Regions from separate parts of the Homo sapiens genome. Here all the other regions are linked to region 3. Evidence: promoter capture Hi-C in 16 types of primary human blood cells and fetal thymus (Javierre and others, 2016). All regions are on one chromosome and are shown on one strand. The core of a region is centred on a gene start or on the middle of the fragment in contact, and the rest is flanking DNA. Distances in the headings are between cores, read along the strand shown.

Region 1 (2,797 bases), core at 13-2,512, 180 kb before region 3:
AGGTGCCCGCCACCACGCCCGGCTAATTTTTTGTATTTTTAGTAGAGACGGGGTTTCACCATGTCAGCCAGGATGGTCTCGATCTCCTGACCTCGTGATCCGCCCAACTCGGCCTCCCAAAGTGCTAGGATTACAGGCGTGAGCCACTGCGCCTGGCCTGCTAAAACTATTGCTCAGAACTCACTCTCTTTACACCTGGTCTCACTCTACAGTAAATGTACTCAGAGCCTGACAGAACATTACATTCTACAAAAACCAAAGAGTATACAGAGAGAGAAAACATCCCATGCCTTTGGATGGATGGGTCCTATGTGATCAACTTTAATCCTCAACAGATTATTTTAAATTTCTTCTAGAAAAAGAAAGAAAACAAAGCAATGTTTTAGGTTCTACTTATCATCTGTGTTACTATGTTTTGCCCTGGCTGAGAAGCCAAAGTCCTAATTTTATAAATAGGAAAAACACAGCTTATATACAGAAAACAATCAGTGACATGTCAGATAGTATTAGGAAATAAGAAATTATTGTTTAAGGTAGGGAAAACAAATAATAAACCTGAGTATATGCCTTTAACTTTGTAGACCAGTATTTTACATGAGTCTTAAGTTTTCTGAGTAAAATCACTGCCATCTTCCAGCACTTTAAGCAAGCTTCCATTTCCTAGTCTTAACCTAAATTATAGCCAAATTTCATAACATTAGTAAGTTAAGCCCCCACTAGAAATTCTGGGAGAAGCTTATTTCTTCAGAAATTGCCTTTCAGGTTTTAAGTTCCTGGAGTTCTAGTCTCTCTCTCCTACAAAAATTGTGGATCAGCTGGGCGTGGTGGTACGTGCCTGTAGTCCCCAGCTACTAGTGAGACACAGGGAGGAGGATCACTTGAGCCCAGAAATTTCAGGCTGCAGTGAACTGTGATTGTCCCACTGCACTCCAGCCTGGGTAACAGAGCAAGACCCTGTCTCTAAAGTAAGAAATAAGTGTGGATCAGCTTTTATGTCTTAGGAAACTCAAAAAATATTTTACCCATAAAAAGAGTCTTTCACATTATTCACATACTTGAATCACTAAACTAAAATACATAAAACAGAGCTGTAAGATTAGAAAAGAGGAAAATATTAAGGACTCAAGTAATCCAAGAATTAGTCTAAAACCCATTTAGAGATGGTTTCATGGAGTTCTCATATAGCGAAGATAGGAATCTCATGTGAAGACCACAGAAAGCTGAATCATGGTTCCAAACTCTGTGGCAACAAAATGACAGTGAACTCAAAATTTCTCCTCAACAAACAAAAACAAACATCTGAGAAAAAAATTATAGTTCCATGGAAAATTTAGTCCTGATCTAGAAAAAGCCAATTACTTTCTAAATTTTTCCTTTTAAGCAAATAATAATAATTTAAAGAGCATAACAGAAGACACCACTTATCTTGCTGGTCTAGAATAAGAAAATCTGCTAAGTGCTAAAACCATGACTGGAGGTCTTTACTAATGTTTTGGAGAAATAAAATTACTTTTCAATATGCTTTTGTCACCATAATCAACTTAAGATAATTGAACAAATTTAGTTGTTATGACTTCAGATGTCTTTATATTTTCATAATTAAATGAAATGGGAAAAAAAGAAATCCTGGAAATGTGACCTAGTTTTAATGGATCAAGAGCCCTTTTCTGGTTCTACGCTGGCCCAGAGACCAAGATGAAAATTATCAGCCAGTATGCTGCGTTACATTTACCAATGAAAGAAGCATTAAGTACTTTCAAAACCTACATTAAAAAACCACTTTAACAGGTAAAGCTTGAAATGGAAAAGAAAATCAGAAATCCTAGGCCAGTGTCTTAAGTCTTGTCATCACTTTCTGTTGGTTCTGATTAGACTAGGCCTCAGATACCCCATCTGTAAAATGAAATATATATATGTACCATATAACTTCATAAAAATATTTGGAAAATCAAAAGTGAGGATTTTAAAAATTACTCCTTCTCGGCCAGGCATGGTGGCTCACATCTGTAATCCCAGCACTTTGGGAGGCCGAGGCAGGCGGATCACTTGAGGTCAGGAGCTCAAGACTAGCCTGGCCAACACGGCAAAACCCCATCTCTACTAAAAATAGAAAAATTAGCCAGGTGTGGTGGCACATGCCTGTAATCCCAGCTACTCAGGAGGCTGAGAAGAAGGAGAAGGAGGTTGCAGTGAGCCGAGATCGCACTACTGCACTCCAGCCTGGGTGACAGAGCGAGACTCCAACTCAAAAAAAAAAAAAAAACAAAAAAAACTTACTCTTCAAGAGGAAAATACTAGGTTTTCCACTAATCTATCACACACACTGCTCCTCATTCCAGGTTCTTTTCAAGGCTGCCACTGTATGTGATCATCTTGTCCGACATGCAAAATCAGTTTTCATTCTTGGTAACTGGTTAACAAAATACTTTTTATATTTATACCATACCTCATTCCAAAAAGGGTCTGAGGCACAAAAGCACATGTATATAGACTTTTAAAATTATGCTAGCATAATAAAAAATAAATTGAACTGGGGAAGATATTAAATGTGGCCTCTCCCCTACCAACCTCACATAACAACCTGTATGTAACAGATATACCTGAAAAATTTTTAATTCATTATCTGATGTTAGAGTTCAAAACCTGCTATAAATATAAATATACTGGAGCCATCAGAGAAATAATGATGCTTTATCCTGCTGTCCAAAAATTAACAGTGACCTTACCTTGTATGGATCAAGTAAAAAGTCACTGAACTTGCTGGGCAGAGAGTATTTCTTCACCAATTCATCTTCTA
Region 2 (2,700 bases), core at 127-2,626, 200 kb before region 3:
ATGAGAACATATAAATACTATAGACTTATCCTTGGAGGCTTCAAGTGTCAAATAATACAACTAACTTTTTTGTAAATCAGTTCCTATATACTGATACGTGACTTTAACATAGATATATCTTGAGCCAATTTATCAAAGCCTATCTTAGATCATCACAATATTTGGTTTTTTGTTTTGTTTCGTTTTGTTTTTTGAGATAGAGTCTCGCTCTGTCGCCCAGGCTGGAGTGCAGTGGTACAATCTCAGCTCACTGAAACCTCTGCCTCCCAGGTTCATGCAATTCTCCCTGCCTCAGACTCCCGAGTGGCTGGGATTACAGGCACACACCAACACACCTGGCTAATTTTTCTATTTTTAGTAGAGATGGGGTTTCACCATGTTGGCCAGGCTGGTCTCCAACTCCTGACCTCAGGTGATCCGCCCGCCTTGGCCTCCCAAGTGCTGGGATTACAGGTGTGAGCTACCACGCCCGGCCAGTCACCACAATATTTGAAGCCTTACCTCATACTATGATTGTTTATCTTCTCTTTCCCATTCTCCCCACTTTAACCTGAAACATCTCTGCAATACTAACACATAACTTTGTTTAGTCTTTTCAATTGGGTAATTTATTTATTTTTTTTAATTTTTTGAGACAGAATGTTGCTCTGTCACCCAGGCTGCAGTGCAGTGGCGCAATCTTGGCTCACTGCAACCCCTGCCTCCTGGGCTTAAACAATTCTCTTGCCTCAGCCTGCCAAGTAGCTGGGATTACAGGTGCCCGCCACCACACCCGGCTAATTTTTGTGTTTTTTGTAGAGACGGGGTTTCGCCATGTTGGCCAGGCTGGTCTTTTAACTCTTGAGCTCAAGTGATCCGCCTGCCTCAGCCTCCCAAAGTGCTGGGATTATAGGCATCAGCCACTGCATCCAGCCTCAGTTGGGTAATTTTAAATAAAAACTGCCATTCTAGAACTGGAAAACACGAAACAACATCCACCAGGATGCTCTAGAAGTGAAGGGTCTGGCTCCCCAATCTTGTCTCGGGGACACATTATAAAGTAACACTCCTTCATCCCACTGGAATCTCTTCCAAATCTAAACATCCAGGCTCCACAGTTACTGCTCTCAAACCTAACTGCCCTCACCTGAGTATTTATGAAGTCTAACGAAACCAGATTCTTCTATAAAGTGACATAATCTATGCTCGATATAATTCAACATGCAAACACCTTAAATCTGAAGTTTTATTTGAAGGAATGTTTATTTTTGTAAATCAGTATTATTCTTATTTAACAATTTTGTGAGTTTCAAGCTTGAGTTAGGAATTTCTCTAAAATGAATTACTTTTTAAAAAATAAAGATTTATCGAAGAAGCACAATAACCTAGTACTCAGGAAGCAACTTCTTTTATTTCTTTATCTCCCACATGACACCAACACATAAGCAATTTTCATTAGGTTACAGACAGCAGAGCTGAAAGAAGCTTATGGATCATTTAACCTAGTGGTTCTCGAAAGGGAGCACTGCTGCCTGCCACATGTATCTGGCAGGATTTAGAGACATACTTGGTTTTCACTGCTACCACCTAGTGGGTAGAGGGGAGCTCCCGAATAACCTATAATGCACAGGACAGCTCCCAGTACAAAAAACTATCTTCCTCATCAGTGTCATGGTGGGAGGAAAAAAAAAAAGATTCATCTAGCCCAAAATGTCAGTAACACTGAGGTTGAGAAAACCTGACCTAACCTAACCATCTTATTTTTTTAATTAAAATTTGTTTTATTTCTTTCTTGAAATATACTCAATACATACACTTTAAGAAAGAATATGGATATATATTCAGAAAACTATTCAGTGTGTGTTTCTTTTACAAACTGAACACATATACCCGGCACCCAGATCAAGAGAAAGAATATTACCAGTGTCCCTACATGATCCCCTCTCAGTCACTCATTTTTCGTTAGGTATTTGCCATGTTTCTCCTCACAAGAATTTTAAGAACCTTATCTGTCTTGTTTGCTGCTATACCCCTAGCGTATGACAAACTGCTTCACAAATAGAGATTCAGCATAAACACTGAATAAATTAATTTTAAAAGTAGAAGAAGAGGGTCAGGTGCAGTGGCTCACACTTGTAATCCCCAGCACTTTGGGAGGCCGAGGTGGGCAGATCACCTGAGGTCAGGAGTTTGAGACCAGCTTGGCCAACATGGCGAAACCCCGTCCCTACAAAAAATACAAAAATTAGCCAGATGTGGTGGCACACACCTGTAGTCCCAGCTACTCGGGAGACTGAAGTAGGAGAAGTGTTTGAACCCAGGAGGTGGAGGTTGCAGTGAGCCGAGATCACGCCATTGCTCTCCAGCCTGGGCAACAAGAGTGAAATTCCGTCTCAAAAAAAAAAAAAAAAAGAAGAAGAAGAAGAGGACATCTAACACTGCCCTTCTTAGACCCCATACCTCAATTTCAGCCCTTGAGGCACCTACAAAGGCTTCCAAGGGACAAAGTTTGAAAACTGCTCCTATAAAAGCTAATACCCAAATATCCTCATATTCAAGCTCTTCATCTTCTCACACTATGCTTAGAACAAAGGTGGTAATCAAACGTGGGTTTCTCTCCTTCTTTCTACACATTTCACATCTACCTACTTCACTCAAATAGATCTAAGACCACAATAAAGAAATTCTGCAAATGGAAAACGTGACAGAGGAAAAGCAGTC
Region 3 (2,700 bases), core at 90-2,589:
TATCTCGGCTCACTACAACCTCCGCCTCCCAGGTTCAAGCGATTCTCCTGCCTCAGCCACCTGAGTAGCTGGAATTACAGGCGCCCACCACCACGCCCGGCTAATTTTTGTTGGTCAGGTTGGTCTCAAACTTCTGACCTCAAATGATTCACCCACCTTGGACTCCCAAAGTGCTGGGATTACAGGCATGGGCTACCGTGCCCGGCCTCTGTGATGCTTCTGCATGTCTAAAATAACAAGTGGGTATTGACCTACTATGTGTATTCATTATAACATTGCTAGCCATATCACTATCCCTCAGCATTTTAATTTTACTTTTATAGAGATGGGGTCTTGCTGTGTTGCCCAGGCTGGTCTCAAAACTGAGCTCAAGCAATCTCCCACCTCTGCCTCCTGAGTAGCTAGGACTACAGACGCATGCCACCATGTCCGGATACTTTTTAAAAGCATTTAAATACTTTTAAAAATTGTTCTTTTCACTCTTTTTTTTTTTTTTTTTGAGACGGAGTCTCGCTCTGTCACCCAGCCTGGAGTGCAGTGGCGCGATCTCCGCTCACTGCAAGCTCCGCCTCCCGGGTTCACGCCATTCTCCTGCCTCAGCCTCGCGAGTAGCTGGGACTACAGGCGCCCGCCACCACGCCCGGCTAATTTTTTTTGTATTTTTAGTAGAGACGGGGTTTCACCATGTTAGCCAGGATGGTCTCGATCTCCTGACCTCGTGATCCGCCCGCCTCGGCCTCCCAAAGTGCTGGGATTACAGGCGTGAGCCACCGCGCCCGGCCTCTTTTCACCCTTTTGACAATTTTTAAATTTTTTTAAATAGAGACGGGGGTCTTGTTATGTTGCCCAGGCTGGTCTCAAACTCCTGGCCTCAAGCGATCCTCCCTTCTCGGTCTCCCAAATCGCTGGAATTACAGGAGAGAGCCACCGCGCCCGGCCAGCAAGTCAGCGCTCACCATCTCCAACCCCATTTTACAGAAGAGAAAACTGAGGCTTGGGGAGGGCTGCAAGGCAGGAGCCCTCGGCGCCCGGCCAAAGTCAGAAATTTGTTGTTGCCATCCGAGGGGAAAACGTGCACGGGCTCTGCAAATTGTAACCGCCCGGGGTGGGAGAGTCCGTGCCTGGGGGCGTGGTGAGCCAGGGCCGGTGCTGGGGCGCAGAGCAGGGCGGCTCAGATTCCGGGAGGGGCGGGGAGATCGGGTTGCTGGGCGATCCTGGGGTGCTGGAGGCGGCGCGGCGCGGCCGGGGCGGGGAGGGGTGCGGCCCGCCTCCTCCCTGCCCCACCCCCAGCCCCGGCGCCGCGGCTCCTTTAAGAGCGGGAGGGGCGCCCCCTGGCGGCGGAGCGGTGCGTGCGGCCGGAGCCGGAGCGGATCCTGGAGCCGGAGCGGAGCGGAGCGGAGCGGAGCCGGGGCGGAGCGGGCCGAGCGGGCCGAGCCAGCAGCCGAGCTGGGGGCGCGGGCGGGCGGCATGTACCGGGCCCGGGCGGCGCGGGCGGGGCCGGAGCCCGGCAGCCCGGGGCGCTTTGGGATCCTCAGCACCGGGCAGCTCCGGGACCTGCTTCAGGATGAGCCCAAGCTGGACCGGATCGTGCGGCTCAGCAGGAAGGTAGCGCGGGGGGCTCGAGCGGGGGGCGCGGGGGACGGGCAGCGGCCTGCGGGACCTGCCGCTCGAGGGAAGGGCCGCGCGGGCCGGGCCGCGGGGCCGCCCGTGGGCGCGGAGCCTGGCACGTACGAGTGGGCCCCGCGGAGCCACCCCCGGGGGAGGGGGCGCTTGGAGCTGGCCTGGGGCGGGTGGGGCGCCGGGGACCCGAGGGGGGCGCCTGTGCACCCCCAGGATGGCCGCGAGGCGTGTCCTACAGCGGATGCTCCGGGGAGGTGTGTTCCGGGGGGCTGTGTTGTGGGGGGCCCTGGCTCGCACACCCACGTTCTGTAAGGGCCAGAAAGAGGAGGCGCCTTCCACTGGGAGAACTAGGGGCCTGTCTGACACCTGGAGGGGCCGTTGGGGGTTCACGCATTCTGGGGGCGCAAGAGGGGGCTTTGTGCCTGGCGTTGGGGAGGGGTGCTGGAAGCTGCCGTGTGTATTGCATAGGCCACCGTAAGAGAAAGTTGTATATTTCACGGGAGATAGGCCCGGGCTGGTTGTCTGTGGGGGGCAGAAAGGGCAAGTGTGTGTTGAAAGCAGGCAGGCGAGGAGGGGCTTGTGCATCCCACAAGGGACAGATGGAGGGGAGTGCGTTCTCCAGGGGCAGGGAGGGGAGGTTGGGCCCTGCTAGAGACAAGGAAAAAGCCTTCTCCAGGGCCGGGGCTGCTGTAAGCCCGGAGCAGGGAGGAAAAGGGGGTGTGTATTCCTTGGGGTGTGAGGATTCCACTGGAGGCAGAGGAAGGGGTGGGAAGGGAAGAGAGGGTGACCCGAGGGGGTGCTGTGAGGGGACGGGGTGCAGACACCCCTCTGGAGAGGATGAGCAGGGGGTGGGAGTGTTTTCGGTGCAAACACCTGAGGAGGAAACAGACAAAGGCCTGGAGTGAGAGGGAAGCTGTCCATGCATGGAAAATGGGGCAGAGGAGGGAGGGGCACTCCTCCGGGACCTGAGCAGACATATTAATTGAAAAATTAAAAATTAACTAACATTTGTAGAGGCCTTTATAGTTTTCCTCACTTAAGTCTCTCAACAACCCCATAAGGTGGATGTTTTTTAACTCG
Region 4 (2,700 bases), core at 177-2,676, 190 kb after region 3:
GGGCAGCCACAGAGCCACAAAGAGCCCTGGCTGGAGTCTAGCTTGGGGACTAAGACCAGGGCTTTGGTGGGGGCAGGGAAGGGCAGGTGACTAGAGCTGGGACTGAGACATGTGCCTAGCATTCCCATGGGGCTGCCCATAGGGGCTGTGGGACAGAGTGAGGTCTCTTCTGCTCTAGCTCCCACACTGACCACGGGGAGTGTGGTCAGTATGAGGCTGGAGATATCAGCTCAGCCTCTGTGGCAGTGGAGTTCTGGGGACAGGGATACCAGGTGATGGTGGTGGCAAACCAAAGAGAGGAGGGAAAACAAACTGCAAATCCCAGTCTCAGCCACCTCTCTTTCTTTTCTTTTCTTTTCTCCCTCCCTCCCTCCTTCCTTCCTTCCTTCCTTCCTTCCTTCCTTCCTTCCTTCCTTCCCTTCTTTTTTTTTTTTGAGATGGAGTCTTGCTCTGTCACCCAGGCTGGAGTGCAGTTGCCTGATCTCGGCTTACTGCAACCTCTGCCTCCCGGGTTCAAGAGATTCTCTTGCCTCAGCCTCCTGAGTAGCTGGGATTACAGGGATGCACCACTACACCCAGCTAATTTTTATATTTTTGGTAGAGACCAGGTTTCATCATGCTGCCCAGGCTGGTCTTGAACTCCTGGCCTCAAGTGATCCACCTGCTTTGGCCTCTGAAAGTGCTAGGATTACAGGAGTGAGCCACTGCACCCGGCTCAGCCACCACCTTCTGACCCCCAGCAATCCCTTTGCCTCTCTCCCCAAACCTACTCCTTCTCTTCCCCGCCCCCACTTGGTGGGCAGCGCTACTTTCTGCCTTTCACTCAAGTCTTCTGGGTTGGGGGTATCCCTGACCCCTGTCTCGCTTTACTTCTTTTCCTGTTCATTCCTCTGTTGGGATGCCTCTGTCTATGTGTCTTTCACATTTCTGTATGTCTTGTGAGTGAGGCACTAATGGATTGCCTTTTGCCCTGGACTTTCTTTTCTAGGATATCTGTATATCAGACAACCTTGGAAGACATAATGTCTCCTTCTGGGGCAAAAGGCAGCCCTGCTTACTGCACATTAGAAAAGATTTGGGTTTCCTGGCCAGGCGCGGTGACTCATGCCTGTAATCCCAGCACTTTGGGAGGCGCTGGCAGGCGGATCACCTGAGGTCAGGAGTTCGAGACCAGCCTGGCCAATATGGTGAAACCCCATCCCTACTAAAAATACAAAAATTAGCTGGGCTTGGTGGTGCGAGCCTGTAATCCCAGCTACTCGGGAGGCTGAGGCAGGAGAATTGCTTGAACCTGGGAGGCGGAAGTTGCGGCGAGTGGAGATGGTGCCACTGCACTCCAGCCTGGGCGACAGAGTGAGACTCCATCTCAAAAAAAGAAAAAAAGAAGGCTGGGCGAGGTGGCTCCCACCTGTAATCCCAGCACTTTGGGAGGCGCTGGCGGGTGCATCACCTGAGGTTAGGAGTCTGAGACCAGCCTGGCCAAGCTGGAGAAACCCTGTCTCTACTAAAAATACAAAAAAGTAGCCGGGTATGGTGGTAGGCGCCTATAATCCCAGCTACTTGGGAGGCTGAGGCAGGAGAATTGCTTGAACCCGGGAAGTGGAGGTTGCAGTGAGCCGAGATTGTACCACTGCACTGGGTGACAGAGCAAGACTCCATCTCAAAAAAAAAAAAAAAAAAAAAAAAAGAAAAGAAAAGATTTGGGTTCCCTAAACTCAAGCCACCTCTCCTGTAACACACCCACCTCAGATACTGCCAGGCATCATCTGGCCCTTGTCATATCACCCTGTGGGATTTGGAGCTCAAGGAATGAATGGAAAATGCTTATAACCTAGTTCACTGCTATTGCCATGAGTAACATTGTCTTTGATCTCTGACCTGGGAGTCTCATGTCTTCCTGTGGCAGCTGTGGAGCTCTGGTTGGCTAACTTGTTAGCATGAAATTGGGCAACGTCTCAGATCATCGTGGGTCTTGACATCCTCCAATTCTATCTGTTGTACCTGCTACAGATTTCTGGCATCTGTTGTCTCCATTTCCAGGGCCTCAGCCCTGGTCAAGGCTCCCATCATCACATGTCTAGGGGTTTATTTGTTCTGGATTCCTTTTTGCTGTCCCTACCCCAGAGTCCTCTGCCTTAGTTTCCATGCACACTGCTTGAGCCGCCTGCTGCAAGACCCCCACCCGACCATCTGCTGGAGGGCTTTCTCTGGTGTTTGTGCTGGTAAGATTGGAGGTTCAGCGGGAGTTAATGTCCAACAGGAAGCAGACAGGTCATGGAAGATAAATACCCCAGTATTCATGCTCCTTGGGTGGGGTGACTCTGAGGTGCGTTCTGCACCATTTTCCAGGGGATTTTGGGGATCAGCCCCGGTTGTCTGAACTCAAACCCTGCTCATGAACTCATCTGTCCTTGCCTCTCTTTCTTTTCTTTCTCTTTCTTTTCTTTCCTTCCTTCCTTTTTCTTTCTTTCTTTCTTTTTCTTTCTCTCTTTTTCTTTCTTTTCTTTCTCTTTCTTTCTTTCCTTCTTTTTCTTTCTCTTTCTTTCTTTTTCTTTCTTTCTTCTTTCTTTCTTTCTCTCTCTCTCTCTCTCCCCCTCCCCTCCCCTCCCCTCCCCTTCCCTCTTTTTATCACAGAGTCTCACTCTCTTGCCCAGGCTGGAGTACAGTGGCATGATCTCAGCTCACTGCAACCTCTGCCTT
Region 5 (2,700 bases), core at 94-2,593, 220 kb before region 3:
TCTGATTCCCTGGCACGACATTTCAAAGACTGGCATGTTACAGACCTGCAGGAGAGTAAAATCTATACCACACTTATATTCTGTGTACACAAAATTCTTTTGGGTAGAAATGAAGATCTTGGGAATAGAAATCCTACTCCCTAATATACCCACATAAGCAAATTTGATTTAAATATACCTTTCTTTCGACAAACTTTGCACCTAGCATTTTCTGCGGACATATCCCACTTGATACAGGCATCAAGCATCCCAAGCAGCACGTGCATCCTGGAGAAAGTCTGAGCTTCCCGGATTGCTGTCTTCCATTTCTCCAGTGCAGATGCAACCTAAACAGAGACCAAACCAGGCCAGCATTACTACACTGACCAAAGACACTGAGAGAGAACTAGGAACAGGGGACAGTATGAGAGAATTCTGAGGACACTTGCCTCCTAGAACTTCACTAATCTAAACCATTTATTCTTATAAAAGGCTCCAAAGGGGGAAAAAAACTTGCCAAAGGTCACACAGAGATGCAGTGGAGTGGGTGGATGACTGGGGACAAGCATCTTCTAGGGAAATCCACCTAACAACTCAGTATAATTTAAAAATAGGATCACCTGTATGCTGTAAATGCTATAATGCAACAATTTTAGACAGCTAATAAAACTCCGATTTAAAAGATAATCAATAACCTACCACAACACCACCAATCCAATACCACAGCTGGATTTCAATGCCCTGCCCGAAGCAAAGAAGTCCTTGTGAAGTAATGAATCTCCTAAAGGAAAACAGCCAGTTATCCTGGAAGGTCATGGGCTTTAAAATACAGGTGCCAAGGAACAAAGATAGTTGATTCTGTTCCGAAGTGGGGTACTAAACAGACTGGGGAGAGGGATGAGGGGAACAGGGCTGCTTTTTCTCTTTCCTATAGAAACAGAGAATCACAGGGAGCCTTGTGTGTATAAATTTATGAATAACAAGGATAAGTAATATAAACACACATACAAAAATCTACATTTAAGAAGCTGCTAAAGTTCAACTGGAAACTGACTGACTCTGTTGTAGATATTTCAACATCTGCTTTGAAAAACAGCAATCTCCTTCCTTACTTTTGCAGAGCTCCTCAGTAAACTGAGGTCCACAATCACAGCTGCCTTGCTGTCTTCTCCCCTGATAAAAAGAGAGCTGACAGACACTACTGCAGATTCTCTTCTTGAGAGGATAACCCAAATCTTTTCAATGGAATATCAATGTAAGAATTTCAGGTTCGGTTCTTTAAAAGTGCTTGAGAACTGGCAGGGAATGACTACCAATGGGCTTTGCTGTCCTCTAGTGGACATTCACATGTAGTGCACACAGTATGGAAGAAAACAGTCATGGGCAGTCCTGCTTTTTACTATTTCCTATGAATTATAAAATCTGAGCATCCAATAGCTCATCTGACCTCATTAAAACTTTTTTTAAATTTGAAGGTGTTTTGGGAATAGGCTTATTTAACCTCGTTTTTTTAAAAAACAGATTTTAAATAGTATCATACAATAATAGGTAGCCCTTGTAACTGGCTTCTTTCACTGAGCATGTTTCTAGGTTCATTCGCAAAGCATGTAACAGTACTTTCATCAGTTTTACTGCTGAACAATATCTCATTGAATAGACATTGCACATGCTGTTTATCCATTCATCAGCTGACAGTTACCTGGGCTGCTTCCGTATTTTGGTTATTCAGAATCACCCCATCTTACGATGGGTCAAACCTATGACTTCACAATGGTGCAAAAGTGATACACGTTCGGCCGGGCGTGGTGGCTCACACCTATAATCCCAGCACTTTGGGAGGCCGAGGCGGGCGGATCACAAAGTCAGGAGTTCGAGACCAGCCTGGCCAATATGGTGAAACCTGGTCTCTACTAAAAATACAAAAATTAGGCGGGTGTGGTGATGTGTGCCTGTAGTCCCAGCTACTCGGGAGACTGAGGCAGGAGAATTGCTTGAACCCGGGAGGCGGAGGCTGCAGTGAGCCGAGATTGCACCACTGCACTCCAGCCTGGGTGACAGAGCAAGACTTCATCTCGAGAAAAAAAAAAAAAAAAAAGTGATACACATTCAGCAGGCTCCTCGACTTATGATAGGGTTAAACCCAGATAAAACCATCATAAATTATAAATACTGTAAGTCAAACAATGGGTTTATTGGGACATAGCCCCATCCTAAATTCAGGAGCATCTGTAATCAGGATGTCCGGACAAACGCCACCAAAGTAAACAATCAAACAAAACCCAGGATTTTGCCAAACAATATATCAGTCTTTTCTATTTAATTCAATAAAACAAAATAAGCATTAAAAACCGAAATCAACCACTATTACAAAAAGAGATTTGAGAGACAATCCATTTTTATAAATAAGGAAGCTGAATCCTAGATTAGAGACTGATAAAAGCTCATGCAACAGCCTAGTGCCAGTTGAAAAAACTTTGGCCCTTGCTAAGTGGAAACCTTCAAAGCAAAGAGCAGTGGAAAATTTCAAAGCTGTGGCTGAGTTGACCTCTGGTGGGGAACCACGAGGCATAATGCCATTTTAATGCAGAACACTGCTGAACTACTTAGTAGGCAACCTAGTTGATTTTCCAAGAAACTCTTCCATGCTTTCCATTTATGTACTGTGTCTGGACCTGCAAACTTCTCACATTTTCCTCCCCAACTAAGCTAAGAACAAGTCTC
Region 6 (2,835 bases), core at 301-2,800, 160 kb before region 3:
ACTTTGGGAGGCCGAGGCGGGTGGATCACGAGGTCAGGAGATCAAGACCATCCTGGCTAACACGATGAAACCCCATCTCTACTAAAAATATAAAAAATTAGCCGGCCATGGTGGCTGGTGCCTATCGTCCCAGCTACTTGGGAGGCTGAGGCAGGAGAATGGCATGAACCCAGGAAGCGGAGCTTACAGTGAGCCGAGATCGCACCACTGCACTCCAGCCTGGGCGACAGAGCGAGATTCCATCTCAAAAAAAAAAAAAAAGACTTAACTTTTGGCTGGGCGTGGTGGCTCACACCTGTAATCCTAGCACTTTGGGAGGCCAAGGCGGGCAGATCACCTGAGGTCAGGAGTTCAAGGCCAGCCTGGCCAACATGGCGAAACCCTGTCTCTACTCAAAATACAAGAATTAGCCGGGCGTGGTGGCACATGCCTGTAATCCCAGCTACTCGGGAGGCTGAGGCAGGAGAATCACTTGAACACGGGAAGCGAAGGTTGCAGTGAGCCAAGATCACACCATTGCACTCCAGCCTGGGCAACAGAGAGAGACTCAGTCTCAAAAAACAAACAAACAAAAAAAAACACTTAACATTTTACGAGTTTTAGGTTCACAGCAAAACAACACTGCTTTAGCAAATATACGTAAAGCACTGGGGAATACAAAGATTAAAAAAAAACATGCAGTTTGCTGGACACAGTGGGTCCCAGCACTTTGAAAGGCACAGGTGGGAGGATTGCTTGAGCCCAGGAGTTTGAGACCAGCCTGGCCAACAGAGTGAGAACCTGCCTCTATAAAAAACTAAAATAATTAGCTGGGTGAGGTGGCATGCACCTATAGTTCCAGCTACGTAAGAGGCTGAGGCAAGAGGCTGGCTTGATCCCAGGAGCTATGTGCATACCACTGCACTCCACCCTGGGCAACAGAGCGAAACTGTGCCTCTTAAAAAAAAGGAAACCAGGAAGCGTTAACATGTTGGAAACGTGACTTGAACACCAGAGCTGTTGCAAAAGGACAGCAATGATTTAACACTTTTCACTTATTAAACTAGCAAAAAAAAAAAAAAATTTAATTATCATACCCGGTTGGGTGCAGTGGTTCACGCCTGTAATCCCAGCACTTTGGGAGGCCGAAATGAGCAGGTCGCTTGAGGTCAGGAGTTCGAGACCAGCCTGGCTAACATGGTGAAACCCCATCTCTACTAAAAACACAAAAATTAGCCAGGCGTGGTGGTGAGCGCCTGTAGACCCAGCTACTCAGGAGGCTGAGGCACGAGAATCACTTGAACCCAGGAGATAGAGGTTACAGTGGGCCGAAATCGTGCCCCTGCATTCCAGCCTGGGCAACAGAGTGAGACTCCATCTCAAAAATAAAAATAAGAATAAGGGCCAGGCGCGGTAGCTCACGCCTGTAATCCCAGCACTTTGGGAGGCCAAGGCGGGAGGATCACGAGGTCAGGAGATTGAGACCATCCTGGCTAACATAGTGAAACCCCATCTCTACTAAAACTACAAAAAATTATCCGGGCTTGGTGGCGAGCACCTGTAGTCCCAGCTACTTGGGAGGCTGAGGCAGGAGAATCACTTGAACCCGGGAGGCGGAGCTTGCAGTGAGCCGAGATCGTGCCACTGCACTCCAGCCTGGGCGAGAGCGAGATTCCGTCTCAAAAAAAGAAAAAGCAAAAAAGAATAAACCACATTACCAGAGTACTTACAAGGTCAAAGTATGGAGCAGGAACACTCAAAGGCCTGGTAAATACCTAAACAAGTGCACCTATAACTAAATAAATATTCCATATTGCTACTGCAAAATGCCATTAGGCAAAGGAACCCAGAAACCCATACAGTACACTAATGTAATATAGTCTAATTTGTGCCCCATAAACTTAAATACACATACTGCTTTAGGGTTAATATTCCCTCCTTTCCTAACAATGTGAAGATGGTGGCAAAGAGCAATACTTCCATTACTTACAGCTCAGCAACTTCCTGTTCTTCCTCCCAGGCTTCCTTGTGTGTTAGCTGACTGCTTCCAGTACTCTTGCACGTCCAAATGCGCTCACTGTACCTTTCCAAGCGGGCTTCATACTCTCTGTTGGCAGTAGTTCAGGAAAACAATATGCAAGCAACAGAGACGACAAACCCATACCCATAAGATACTTATATACAGAAAAAAATCTAGTCTCCTTTTTAAAATGTGTAGCATGAGAGGATAAAAATGGAATTGGAGGCCGGGCGCAGTGGTTCACGCCTGTAATCCCAGCACTTTGGGAGGCCGAGGCGGGCGGATCACGAGGTCAGATCGAGACCAGCCTGGCTAACACGGTGAAACCCCGTGTCTACTAAAAATACAAAAAATTAGCTGTGAGTGGTTGTGGGCGCCTGTAGTCCCAGCTACTCAGGAGGCTGAGGCAGGAGAATGGCGTGAACCCGGGAGGCGGAGCTTGCAGTGAGCCAAGATCACGCCACTGCACTCAAGCCTGGGAGACAGTGCGGCTCCGTCTCAAAAACTAAAAAAAATAAAAAAAAATGAAAAAAATGGAATCAGGGCCCAAAGCAAGATGACTAAGACTGAAGTATAATGAGAATGGATTGTCATGGGCTGGGCACCTGCATGGGATTTACAGACTGGGATGATCACGTCTCTAATCTCAGCATTTTGAGAGGCCACGGCAGGACAATCACTTGAGACCAGGAGTTCGAGACCAGCCTGGGCAACATGATGAGACCTCATCTCTACAAAAAATAAAAATAAAAAATAATAAAAATGGTTTTTCGTGTTTTACAAAAAAAATTAATATTTTAGTACAAATGTGATTTCCTCAATTCACCAAAGTTTCA

Evidence for each region. Contacts are between HindIII fragments. The CHiCAGO score rates a contact against its expected background, and 5 or more counts as called.
Region 1: a fragment that was not itself captured here is called in contact with the fragment with the promoter of VPS37D in region 3 in 13 of 17 cell types (total CD4 T cells, activated CD4 T cells, M0 macrophages and 10 more); the score reaches 7.2 in total CD4 T cells.
Region 2: a contact is called between a fragment that was not itself captured here and the fragment with the promoter of VPS37D in region 3, in 14 of 17 cell types (total CD8 T cells, total B cells, megakaryocytes and 11 more). The highest score is 11.4, in total CD8 T cells.
Region 4: a contact is called between a fragment that was not itself captured here and the fragment with the promoter of VPS37D in region 3, in 6 of 17 cell types (endothelial precursors, erythroblasts, naive CD8 T cells and 3 more). The highest score is 7.3, in endothelial precursors.
Region 5: a fragment that was not itself captured here is called in contact with the fragment with the promoter of VPS37D in region 3 in 2 of 17 cell types (activated CD4 T cells and M2 macrophages); the score reaches 6.4 in activated CD4 T cells.
Region 6: a fragment that was not itself captured here is called in contact with the fragment with the promoter of VPS37D in region 3 in 5 of 17 cell types (naive CD8 T cells, total CD8 T cells, total B cells and 2 more); the score reaches 6.1 in naive CD8 T cells.

Annotation. Positions count from the first base shown.
Region 1 is chr7:73,486,468-73,489,264 of GRCh38, forward strand. It overlaps BAZ1B (bromodomain adjacent to zinc finger domain 1B), which reads right to left. Exons shown (of 20, transcript NM_032408.4): 6 at 2,727-2,797. Among named protein-coding and RNA genes, the nearest start is that of BAZ1B, 34 kb to the right of the region's middle. The HindIII fragment of the contact is 1,059 bases long and covers 734-1,792 here.
Region 2 is chr7:73,466,757-73,469,456 of GRCh38, forward strand. The region is part of intron 9 of BAZ1B (bromodomain adjacent to zinc finger domain 1B); the gene reads right to left. Among named protein-coding and RNA genes, the nearest start is that of FZD9, 34 kb to the left of the region's middle. The HindIII fragment of the contact is 171 bases long and covers 1,292-1,462 here.
Region 3 is chr7:73,666,492-73,669,191 of GRCh38, forward strand. VPS37D (VPS37D subunit of ESCRT-I) reads left to right here and starts at 1,340. Exons shown (of 4, transcript NM_001077621.2): 1 at 1,340-1,605. The coding sequence starts at 1,468. RefSeq lists silencers at 951-1,000, 1,011-1,110, 1,221-1,520 and an enhancer at 1,502-2,497. The HindIII fragment of the contact is 11,431 bases long and covers 1-2,700 here.
Region 4 is chr7:73,857,091-73,859,790 of GRCh38, forward strand. No RefSeq gene overlaps it. Among named protein-coding and RNA genes, the nearest start is that of TMEM270, 2.7 kb to the right of the region's middle. The HindIII fragment of the contact is 4,951 bases long and covers 1-2,700 here.
Region 5 is chr7:73,450,669-73,453,368 of GRCh38, forward strand. BAZ1B (bromodomain adjacent to zinc finger domain 1B) reads right to left here. Exons shown (of 20, transcript NM_032408.4): 14 at 179-326. Among named protein-coding and RNA genes, the nearest start is that of FZD9, 18 kb to the left of the region's middle. The HindIII fragment of the contact is 5,068 bases long and covers 1-2,700 here.
Region 6 is chr7:73,508,767-73,511,601 of GRCh38, forward strand. It overlaps BAZ1B (bromodomain adjacent to zinc finger domain 1B), which reads right to left. Exons shown (of 20, transcript NM_032408.4): 2 at 1,970-2,086. Among named protein-coding and RNA genes, the nearest start is that of BAZ1B, 12 kb to the right of the region's middle. The HindIII fragment of the contact is 3,762 bases long and covers 1-2,835 here.